4 separate regions of the Homo sapiens genome follow, and all the other regions are linked to region 4. Evidence: promoter capture Hi-C in 16 types of primary human blood cells and fetal thymus (Javierre and others, 2016). All regions are on one chromosome and are shown on one strand. The core of a region is centred on a gene start or on the middle of the fragment in contact, and the rest is flanking DNA. Distances in the headings are between cores, read along the strand shown.

The links. The method cuts DNA at HindIII sites, captures the fragments that hold promoters and counts their contacts. A CHiCAGO score of 5 or more calls a contact.
Region 1: the fragment with the promoter of TIGD1 here is called in contact with the fragment with the promoter of COPS7B in region 4 in 1 of 17 cell types (total CD8 T cells); the score reaches 5.5 in total CD8 T cells.
Region 2: a fragment that was not itself captured here is called in contact with the fragment with the promoter of COPS7B in region 4 in 1 of 17 cell types (fetal thymus); the score reaches 6.0 in fetal thymus.
Region 3: a fragment that was not itself captured here is called in contact with the fragment with the promoter of COPS7B in region 4 in 2 of 17 cell types (endothelial precursors and non-activated CD4 T cells); the score reaches 6.3 in endothelial precursors.

What each region holds. Positions count from the first base shown.
Region 1 is chr2:232,549,306-232,552,005 of GRCh38, forward strand. TIGD1 (tigger transposable element derived 1) reads right to left here and starts at 1,252. Exons shown (of 1, transcript NM_145702.4): 1 at 1-1,252. The coding sequence starts at 577. EIF4E2 (eukaryotic translation initiation factor 4E family member 2) reads left to right here and starts at 1,384. Exons shown (of 7, transcript NM_004846.4): 1 at 1,384-1,439. The coding sequence starts at 1,420. MIR5001 (microRNA 5001) reads right to left here and starts at 1,268; the gene lies at 1,169-1,268. RefSeq lists a silencer at 1,395-1,764. The HindIII fragment of the contact is 3,438 bases long and covers 74-2,700 here.
Region 2 is chr2:232,436,301-232,439,000 of GRCh38, forward strand. No RefSeq gene overlaps it. Among named protein-coding and RNA genes, the nearest start is that of ALPI, 19 kb to the right of the region's middle. The HindIII fragment of the contact is 168 bases long and covers 1,320-1,487 here.
Region 3 is chr2:232,566,867-232,569,566 of GRCh38, forward strand. It overlaps EIF4E2 (eukaryotic translation initiation factor 4E family member 2), which reads left to right. Exons shown (of 7, transcript NM_004846.4): 5 at 1-115; 6 at 212-348; 7 at 2,079-2,344. The coding sequence ends at 2,151. Among named protein-coding and RNA genes, the nearest start is that of EIF4E2, 18 kb to the left of the region's middle. RefSeq lists an enhancer at 1,032-2,231. The HindIII fragment of the contact is 838 bases long and covers 898-1,735 here.
Region 4 is chr2:231,785,161-231,787,860 of GRCh38, forward strand. It overlaps COPS7B (COP9 signalosome subunit 7B), which reads left to right and starts at 1,285. Exons shown (of 7, transcript NM_022730.4): 1 at 1,285-1,378. RefSeq lists silencers at 923-1,002, 1,013-1,192, 1,283-1,542. The HindIII fragment of the contact is 4,652 bases long and covers 791-2,700 here.

The DNA.
Region 1 (2,700 bases), core at 2-2,501, 760 kb after region 4:
AATAGAAGGCTGTTTCATCTACATTGAAAATCTGTTGTTTAGTGTAGCCACCTTCGTCAATGATCTTAGCTAAAGCTTCTGGATAACTTGCTGCAGCTTCTACATCAGCACTTGCTGCTTCACCTTGTGCTTTTATGTTATGGAAATGGCTTCTTTCCTTAAACCTCATGAACCAACCTCTGCTAGCTTCAAACTTTTCTTCTGCAGCTTCCACACCTCTCTCAGCTTTCATAGAGTTGAAGAGAGTTAGGGCTTTGTTCTGGATTAGGCTTTGGCTTAAGGGAATGTTGCGGCTGGTCTGATCTTCTATCCAGACCACTAAAACCTTCTCCATATCAGCAATAAGGCTGTTTCGCTTTCTTATCATTCGTGTGTTCATTGGAGTAGCACTTTTAACTTCCTTCAAGAACTTTTCCTTTGCATTTACAACTTGGCTAACTGTTTGCCGCAGGAGGCCTAGCCTTCGGCCTATCTCGGCTTTTGACATACCTTCCTCACTCAGTTTAATCATTTCTAGTTTTTGATTTAAAGTGAGAGATGTGCGACTCTTCCTTTCACTTGAGCACTTAGAGGCCATTGCAGAGTCATTAATTCGCCTAATCTCAATATTGTTGTGTCTCAGGGAATAGGGAGGCCCAAGAAGAGGGAGAGAGATGGGGAACGGTCTGTGGGTGGAGCGGTCAGAACACACACAACATTAAGTTCCACGTCTTATAAAAGACGCTGTATGTGGCACCCCAAAACAATGACAATAGCAACATCAAAGATCACTGATCATAGATCACCATAACAGACACAGAAATCATGAAAAAGTTTTAAATATTTTGAGAATTACCAAAATGTAACACAGAGACACCAAGTGAGCACATGCTGTTGGAAAAATGGCGCTGATACAATTGCTGGACTCAGGGCTGCCACAAACCCTCCATTTGTTTTCAGAATGCCCTATCTGCGAAGCGTAATAAAACGAGGTATGCCATAGTACAGTGGCGCCGCGACCGACAAAGGAAAGCCTCCGGGAGGTCAAAAGAGATACCAGAGAGTGCGTCCCGCACTGGAGGAAGAGGAAGGTTTTTACCAAGCAGCGAGTCCAGAGCCCGCGCCGTCAACGACGCGGTGCTGCCTTTTTTCCGAGCCGCTGCGGGAGGGGGCCAGGACACGCTCCCTTAGGAGAGCGGGCGGGTCACAAGGACCTGGACAGAGGCAGAACTGAGGCCAGCAGCCAGCTCCGCCGCTGAGTCCAGCCCTCTGCGCAGCCGCCCTGAGCTGGCGTCCCGAGATAGCCGCTTCCAAACCGGGCCTGCGCGCCGACGTTCCGCTGCGCCCCGCGCAAAACCGGAAGTACCCGGGCCCAAGGCTGAGGGACCCGGTGGAGCGGAAGTCACTCCCTGAGGCAGTGGCGACAGCGGCGGCGAGAGGATGAACAACAAGTTCGACGCGTGAGTGGCTCGTGGCCGCCCCCGGGGCCCCTTCCCCGAACAGTTCCCCCGCGCCCGCCCCCGCTGGGGCTGGGGCGGCGCAAACCCTGCGGCACCGGCTTCCCTGCTGGGATCCGGCTGCGGCCGGACCTGGCCTGGACTGGCGGGGAGGAGGGGGCTGGGGAGCAATGGATACCGGAGTCCCGGAGACCCCAGGGCCGTCCGAACCGAGGGCGAAGAGCTGGGCCCGGGGGAGGGGTGGCTGTGCCGCCCGGTAGGGGGAGATTTTCGGACGCCCCGCCCTGGTGGATGCGGATTGCCTGCGACGTGGAGGGGTGGGGACCTCGGCGGTTTGGGTGTTTCCGCAGTCTGGCAGCGCTGCCTCTGAATCCAGCTTTCCCCACACACTCCCTCTCCCCTCTGAGCCTCAGTTTTCTCATCTGCAGAGTGGGGACGGTAACACCCTTTGTCGTAGAGTTTGGAGGATGCAATGAGGTAATGTGGTTGCTGCCCTCGACGCGGTGGAAGGCTGGCTTAGGAATTATCTTCCTGAGACTCTTCCTACTTTCTTTCTCCTCCCCTTCCCGTTCCCGTCTTCCAACACACTCGCCAAGACCTAAGTATACTTGTTGCCCTCTCCTGCCCGCTCCGGTTTCTAGTTTCAGCATCAAACAGTTTGGAGGTACAGAGAGAAAATGCAGAAGTATCTTTACTTATCCCCCTCCAAGGATTGTATCTTGAGGTAGAATATGTTCCTTCCTCTCTTCTAGTAGTCTAGTAAATCGACTGTCTCTTCATCCGAAAACCTGGATTTCTAGTCCCAGATTCACCACTTACCATCTGTTTGACTGTAGAAAAGTTACCCAGCCTCTAAGCCATTGTTGCTCAAACCACATTAGTGGCTAGGACCCTGCTGCCACGCCGGGGTGTGATAAGGGTCAGATCACACTCAGCGATGCTTAAAGATGCTTGTGAACATTGCTAACTATTGCGATATAAACGTAAAGTGGAATTACTATTAGTTTAGGTTGTGACCTGGTGCTTTTGATGGGAAATTGGGGTGTTTCCAATACAGAGAGTACTGTGCAAATTCAGGGAATACTGGATTTCCAACACTCCAGGCAGGTAGGTCCTCAGGAATGTTTTCTGGTTGCTGAGAGGTCTCTGCTACTTGAGAAAGTCTTTGCCCGACCTCTTCTCTATCCTGCTGTTTAACTGAGCCTGTCCCTCTACGAACCTCTCCCCCGCTGCCGCCCCATTTCATCTCTATTGTAAACCCTGC
Region 2 (2,700 bases), core at 154-2,653, 650 kb after region 4:
TTTAGTAGAGACGGGAGTTTCACCATGTTGGCCAGGCTGGTCTCGATACTCCTGACCTCAGGTGACCCACCCACCTGGGCCTCCCAAAGTGCTGGGATTATAGGTGTGAGCCACTGTGCCCAGCCTGTTTTGTTTGTTTGTTTTTGTTTTGTTTTGCCTCCGTGACTTTGCTATCTCACCCCTTTCCTATAAAACAGTCCTTTCTCACCATCTCTTGGAATTAGTCTGGCACTCAGGAATGCACCTCTGCTGTTGAGGCTCCAGGAAGTTAGGGCCAAGGCCCTCTGGTGCAGCAGTGCAGACCGCGGCCTGGGGGTGGGGAGACTGTGTGTGGCCAGTCTTTTATTTTTTATTTATTTTTTTATTTTTTACACCTTAGGCTTTGACCCACACAGAAAGAGATGGAACAGCCTGGGCTGCAGGGGCCTGGAAAGGGACGAGCATGTGGGTGGCACCACGCGGGGCAGCTGCAGGGGCAGGGGCTGCCTGTTCTCCTTCTCCCGGTGCTGCTCCAAGGGCACAGTTTGGTGACCGCAGCCACTTAGGGGAGCCTTGAGGATGCAAAAGAGAGTGAGGACACAAGGACACTAGCAAAGCCTAGCTCTGAAGGAGGAGGGATGCCATGCTGGGATGTCGCCACCGTCTTGTCTGAGCCCAAGGGTGGTGCTCGGTCCACCCGTGGGGAGCAGGGAGGAGAGAGGACAGGGCCCTGGCTGCCTCTGGCCTGCTTGGGAATGAGCTCCCTCAGGCGGAGCTTGACAGTATCCACACGCCCAGCAGCAAGCATCATCATCAGAAACACGCAGCCCAGAGCTGTGTGCCCAGCAGAACAGGGCACTGGGGCAGGGACCCAGCCTTCTCAGCTCCTGAATTGGAGCCTGGCATGCCCCATCTTAGAGTCCTTCATTCTGTGCAGATGCACTTGGCATCTAGAGTGGGACCGGAGTCTACGACACGGCATGGAAGGAAATGGCCCCTGTGTTCAAAGAGGCTGTCACAGACATGGCGGCTGAGTGCTGGGATGGGCTCTGAATGGGATGTCAAGAAGCAGGTGGCAGGAGATGGGTGGAGGGAGGGCGAAGGACGATGATGCTCACTGCTGGGCGTGTGGAAGGGGAGGGGAGCTGGACGCAGAACCTCATTCCCTGGAGGTAGGACTGAGCCCATGACGGGGGAGCCGCAGAGGGCCCTTCCAGCAGAGGGATGGGACCAGCTTTGGCGTGAAGGCCGCAGAGCAGAGCATGACTAGGGAGGCCACCTGGTAAAAGAGACGGAGGCTGGGACAAGACTGGTGCCCTTGTCAGAGGGAGGCCAGGAGAAGCTTCTAGAAATGTAGCTGCGTGTTTAGCCCAATTCCTAGAGTTGGGGCAACCATGCCAGTCACAACATAGGACGTGTTACAATGATGTCTTATTTTTTTTTCAAGGCCAGGCACTGGCACATTGCTTCCCTATTTTACAGGCTTTGAAAGAAATGGAGATTCTGAAAGCTTAACTAATTTATCTGGCAAGGCATGGTCTCTCATGCCTGTAATCCCAGCACTTTGGGAGGCAGAGGCAGGAGGATCGCTTCAGCCCAAGAGTTGGAGACCAGCCTGGGCAACATAGTGAGACCTCCTCTCTATAGACAAAATTAGCTGGGCAAGGTGGTGCGCGCCTGTGGTCCCAGCTACTTGGATGCTGAGATGGGAAGATCAGGATCACTTGGGCCACCAGGGAGGTGGAGGCTACAGTGACCCGAGGTCATGCCACTGCACTCCAACCTGGGCAACAGAGCAAGACCTTGTCTCAAAATTAAAAAAAAAAAAAGTTTGAAATCACGCAGTGAGAGTGGCAGGGCTGGCGTTCCAGCATCGTCCTTTAAGATGTGACAGCAACAGGTCCCACTTGAGACAGCAGGAACGCGGCACCCAGTGCTGCCTCTGCACAGGCCCGATGCTTGCTGGAACCTTAAAGGCAAAGGAGACCCGATCATAAACGCATGAAGAGCGCATGTTTCATGGGATTGATGTTGATGCTGGTGTTCCATGCGAGCCACTGAGGAGAAGCCCCTCTCTCAATGGCAGGGCCATGAGAGGTGAAGGACGCCCCTCCACCCCTCCCCCAGACAGGTCTTTCCTGGCCACAGATGCCCCAGATCCCTGAATGTCAAAATCGAGTCCCAATCTCCCAGTTGAGCAGAGAAACATTCAGATCTGGTTCCTCCGTGATCAGGGAAGGCAGGCTTCCTCTGAAGCGCAGATGGCTTCACCCCTTTCTCATCTCATCACCTCTAAGCCCTGCCAGGGCGAGAGCAGCCTTTCCCAGCATCGTCCTTTAAGATGCAACAGAAACAGGTCCCACCTGAGCCAGCAGGAATGCGGCACCCAGTGGCTGGCTCTGCAGTCTTGATGCTCGCCGGCACCTTCAGGGTGAAGGACGCCCTGTCGTAAACGCATGAAGAGCCCTGCGTTTCATATATTGATGTTGTTGCTTTTTCTTTAGAGGAACGTTTGTGCACTGTGGGAACCTCTGTCTCTACCAGTGTCACCCTTGCTGTGGGGAGTGTGTACCGTGTGCGGGGGGCTGGTGGCCTTTCTCTGCTGTCTGCCACAGCGTGTGAGGGGCTCGCTGAGCCTCACACCTGCCCTATCCTTCCCCATCCCCTCCTGCCCCGGGGAGGCACAGACCCAGGGAGGAGGGGTGCTGGGAGTGAGTGCTG
Region 3 (2,700 bases), core at 67-2,566, 780 kb after region 4:
GCTGCGGAAGGGCTTGGCCTCCCGTTGCTGGGAGAATCTCATTTTGGCCATGCTGGGGGAACAGTTCATGGTTGGGGAGGAGATCTGTGGGGCTGTGGTGTCTGTCCGCTTTCAGGTAAGCCACCCATGAGCCAGGCTGGTTTCTTGTGTTGCCTTTGCTCTCCTCGCTGCCCCTGATTTGCTTTGATGATTCCTTCTGTTCCTCTGGTAGGAAGACATTATTTCAATATGGAATAAGACTGCCAGTGACCAAGCAACCACAGCCCGAATCCGGGACACACTTCGGCGAGTGCTTAACCTACCTCCCAACACCATTATGGAATACAAAACTCACACCGACAGCATCAAGTACGTGTTGGGGGGTTATGGGAGGACGTGTCCCTAAGCTTAGTATAAGTAGATCTGTAGTTGGGCCCAGAGGAATATGGCCGGACAGGAGACTTACTTGTGGAGAAGGGACAGACCAGGCCTTCCCTCTAGGGCTTCTGGCTACTTGCTGCAGTTCTTTGTCAGCGAGGCTCCCTGCCACCTATACTACCAGGTGCTTTGTAGCAGAGAGAGCCCATCTGCAGAAACCCAGTTGTACTACCTGGGCTTGCTTAATTTCTACAGGCTGTCTTGTCTTTCATATGCTAACCACTATCTTAAAATGAAAGACAAGTGCTTTTCTTTTTCTTGCTGTTTTTTAAGATAATTTCACCCTGCCCACCCTCACCCCACTTCTGCATGTCTTTTTAACTTGTTAGCTTCAGTCTATTTTCTTTGTCCTGGGATACTGACTACTTATCAGGAATGACTCCATTTCCTTGTGTATAGAGCTGACTCTTAGAAGAAGGGGGATAGTGTGTGTGTGAGAGAGCAGAATCAAAGGGAAGCATGAAGGCCACAGGGAAAATAAGCTTGGCAATCTCCCTAGGACTCAGGGAAATAGAGCTCTCTGTCCACAGTGAGAATCACTGTTAGGCTTGCTCCTCAGTGATTGAGTGTCAGAAGTAAGCTCAGGCTATTGTGAAAAAGTGTGGGGAGTGGCTGTCAGATTGTCTCAAAGCTGGAGGGAGAGCTAGCCAGCTAAGAGTTAGGACTCTTAGGTTTAGTTCTCTCATATGGCCCCATACCAATATGTGCCTTTGACAAGTGTCTTTGCAACTTTGCTTCAGTTTCTCCATCTGTAAAGTGGGAGACAGTACTTTATCTAACAAGGCTATTGTGAGGCTGATTTAATCTTTAACTGAGGGTCTTCAGATGGAGAATGCTTTTACGGGGCCAAGTAGTAGTATTGCTATCATCATCATCATCATTAGTAAGAATATCATCATGTTGTTATTATTGAAGGCTAGTAGTGAGCCCAGCAATTATGTTCAGCAGACAGACCATTTGGGAATCTCTTTCCCATGCATTCATAGATAATGTGGAGTGGAGTTGGCTTAAACCAGCTAAGTGCCAGTTTTTAAGTGGGAACACTGCTATGGGCGTTGGTCCATGATCAAACGGCTGGCATGACTCATCATAGTCACGAACAGTTATTAGCCAGCCATGGCTGTGGTTGCTTGCCTTAGCAGTCCTGTGTTAGCATTGCTTTACTCTGGGCACATTTTTCTTATTCTCTATTCTGGGATAGAAGTAGTTTCTGACTTCTAGCCACGTTCAGTCCAGGCTGGAGAGATCTACACCTGTTTCTAGGATTCTCGTTTTCAAGGTTTCTGAATATCCCCTACTCCCACTTACCCCCAAAATAAGCTTTTTACCTGGATAGGAGAGGGAAAGAGGTATTTTTCATCAATTCTCCCCTTCTCTGCTCTTCTCCCTTTCTAATACCATAAGGCAGTTCTTCGTGACTTTTACAGAAACATATGTACACGTCCTTACAGAGTTTAGGAGAGCCTGTGGGCTTTTTGCCTTAGTCTGCTAGAAAGACTGGCCTGCTGCTCTCTGCTTTATCCAGAGGTCTGCCTCTGGGACTTCAGCCCTGTAGCTGTAGAGACCAGAAGACCAACCCTCTTTGAGACCCAGATGCTACTTTCCCTTGCGTCCCCCTCTCTTTCCTCTCCCAATGAGCCAACCTTTTGCACTTCCACTAGAATGCCAGGCAGGCTGGGCCCCCAAAGGCTCCTTTTTCAAAACCTCTGGAAGCCGCGGTTGAATGTGCCATGACCCTCTCCCTCTCTGGATGGCACCATCATTGAAGCTGGCGTCATCGGAGTCTCTTGTTCTGTTGGCGTGCTACCTGGAAGATCCTTCTGTCCTGGACAAGAGGAATTGGAAGAGCATTTTATGTTTTAAGAACAGGCTGACACGCAGCAGCTACAACAACAGCTGAGATCACTTAATAAATGGTGCTAAACTAGCTTGTCTCATGCTCTTGCTCTTTATGGTGCATCAAAGATGTGGCCTTTCGGACTGACTGTCACCATATTAAGGGATGGCACAGACTTTTCCATGGAGGGCCATCCGGGGAATGCAGCCTCATTTCCATAAGCCCATTGTGTAGTGTCATGTGGTATTTTGTTCCAGGACTGCTGAGGCCTGACATAATAAGGTGACATCTAGCTTAGAAAATAAGACCCCATTTTCTGGTACTTAAATTTGAGTTCCCATCTAGTCACACCGATGACCAGAACAGAGTGATTTCTGATATAGAATTCAGCTTGAAAGTCTGTTCAGGTTGGAAAGGGGGATCCTTGGCCTTTGCTTCGCTGACTT
Region 4 (2,700 bases), core at 35-2,534:
TGCCTCCAATTCTCTCCACATCCAATCCACTCCTATAGCACCTAGCATGATCACTCTAACAAGGCAATTATTCATACCTCTCCTTAGCTTAAAAAGCCTAAGTAATTCCCCAGTACCTGGCATGTGGATTCCAAGACCTTTGATGACCTGACTCCAGCTCTGTACCCCTCATTTCTCACTCTTGAAAACCCTGGGGTCAAACCACTCTGGGTTTCTTTTTGACATCAGTATATGCTGCACAGTGCGAGCCTCTGTGACAATGGGCACTACCCCCCTTTTTTCCCCTTTTTGTCTGTTTTTTTCTTCCCCAACCTCTTCTGTGCTTCCAAAGTGTTGTCATATCTTCCCCATAGCATTTAACACATTGGAGCTTTTGAGGGTAAGAGCTTTGTTTTATCTTCATATAACTTTTCAGGACATAATAGGTGCTAAAGAAATGTTTTTGAATAAATGAATGAGTTGGTTGATGCTAGGCTCCTTTGCATTTGTCCTGTCTCATTTCTGCATTCTAACGCACGATAGGCAAATAGGGCTGTTTTTCTCTCTCATTTTCAAGACCTGAAAGACTGTGGTGTATACAGGAATCAGTTTAAGTGTTCAATTATGTGGCATTTCTTAGCCATCTTCCCAGGGGAGTTGGTAAGCACCAGATGCAACTCTATCAATGACATTTTGGTCATAGAACCATTGTTGGCTTAACCCATCTCTTGCTTATTTTAAAACATTTTCTGAATAGAGGTCAAGAACATCGTCTTCGGCCTCAGATAGCCTGGGTTTGACAAAGATAGCAAGCTTTGTCACTTTCTGACTTTTGGACTTAGTTAACTCACCTGAAAAATGGGAACAATAATACAAGCCACAGTTATGAGAATTCAACGAGATAATGCATGTACAGCACCTGGCACATGGTAAAACGCTCAATAAGTGGTAGTTAGTAGGCTTAATGTATCTCGGTGCCCAGGGGTAGCGCAGTAGCCATGGGGAGCTCCTGAGAGAGAAAGCACAGCCTAAGGGGAGGATTTGGGGCCCGGGATGGCGATGGCGACGGTTGGGCTGCAGTACCGTCTAGGCCGCATTCCTCTCCTTGGGCCCCTAGCCACCCCCTCCCCGCCTGGTTCCCGGGCTGCAGACTCTTCCCCGCCCCCTCGCTCCCACTTCCCCACCGGAGGTCGAAGGCTGTAAACGCGGCGGGTGGAACCTTGTGTGGGCGGAACGCGAGTGCAGCGGTGGGAGGCTTCCGGGGGAGCTGCACGGGCGACGGGTCGGCGGAGACAGAAAAGCGCCGGACGCCGGGGTGATCATGGACGCTTGACAACCTGCGGGCAGGCGCCGGGAGGCCGAGCCAGCGACTAAGAGGACCGAGAGGTGGCGTGGACAGGTAGGAGCTAGCGAGAGGGTGGGCCGAGCGGGGCCGGCGCTCCAGGCTCGGCCAGACGATCCGGCTTAGAGCCCGCCGCCAAGGAAGCCCGCGGCCGTGCCCGCCCCGCCCCCGCCTTGGGGAGCGCGTCCCGCGGCTCCTCACTCCACGCCTGCGGCCCTGCTTGGAGCATACCGCCCACCGTGAGGTCTGCTGCAGCTTGCGACCCTCAGCTTCAGTGCTGTGGCTGCTTTCGCTCTCCCATCCCCAAAGGCTGCTCGTTTGCCCCTCTCCAGTCCATCCAAATAGCGCCCTCCCCTGACGGGAATTTATCTCCGCTCTGTGCCTAGCCTCTGGCCCTCCCACTCCAGAAGAAAGCGACTGTCTCCGTCTCTTTACATTCTCTGCGCCCACAGGCTTTGCTCCTTAAGCCGAGATTTTTTGAAGGGACAGAAGTTTCTCTCCATTTCCCTACCCCCTCTCCACCCCCACCTCCTAACATTGGGACTCTTTGCAGAGATCCCCATCTGTCTCTTCACACGGGTCCTCTTGGAAGGGCCTTTTCGCTCCTTCCCTCTTTACCGTCACCGACCCTCCTTTCTTCCCTACTCCTTTCCTTCTTCCTCGTATCCTCTCCCCTTCTCTTTTCCCTTTCCCTTCCGTCCTCAAACTCGTTGTTCCCCAGCACTTCATTGTTTTTCCTGTGTCTGGCCGGACCTTCTTAGGTAACCCTAAGTGAGGCGACATACTTGTTTCTCTAATACTGTGAAAGGGCAACTAATCTGTGTGCCTGCCAACACAAAACTTAGTTCCTCTTGCACCAAACTATTCTTCAAATTGTTCTTTGCTGCACTCTACTATACCGTTTTTCGTTCATTTTGTCACGCTGCTCTAATATGTATCATTCTTGGAGGAGAAATCTTACCTGGAACTCCTGTACACTCAGCGTGTAATTAGATTACACAATTGAGGGACCCTCCTGTACTTAATGTCTTCGGAGCGCTGATACAATATTTTCACTGTTTTCCCAAATCTTTTTATCGTTTTCTTGAGGTTTTTTTTTTTTTACACATTCTGAAGTCACGTTTGGTTAAAATGTCGTATCAGGAGGAGGCCGAATACAGGGATTTTTCCCCATGGTCTTACACAGCATGTATGTTCTTAGTTTGAATATATCGCTACTTTTCTTTCAAAATGATGTCTCCCTTTATCTGTGCTTACTTGACTTGATTAAATGAGACATCTTTCTTGTCTGGTTTTTTGTTTTCCTTATCTGTCTGGCTGTAGATTGGATTCTGATGACACAGTGGGAGCTGTAACTGATTGCTTTTGCTTACATCCGG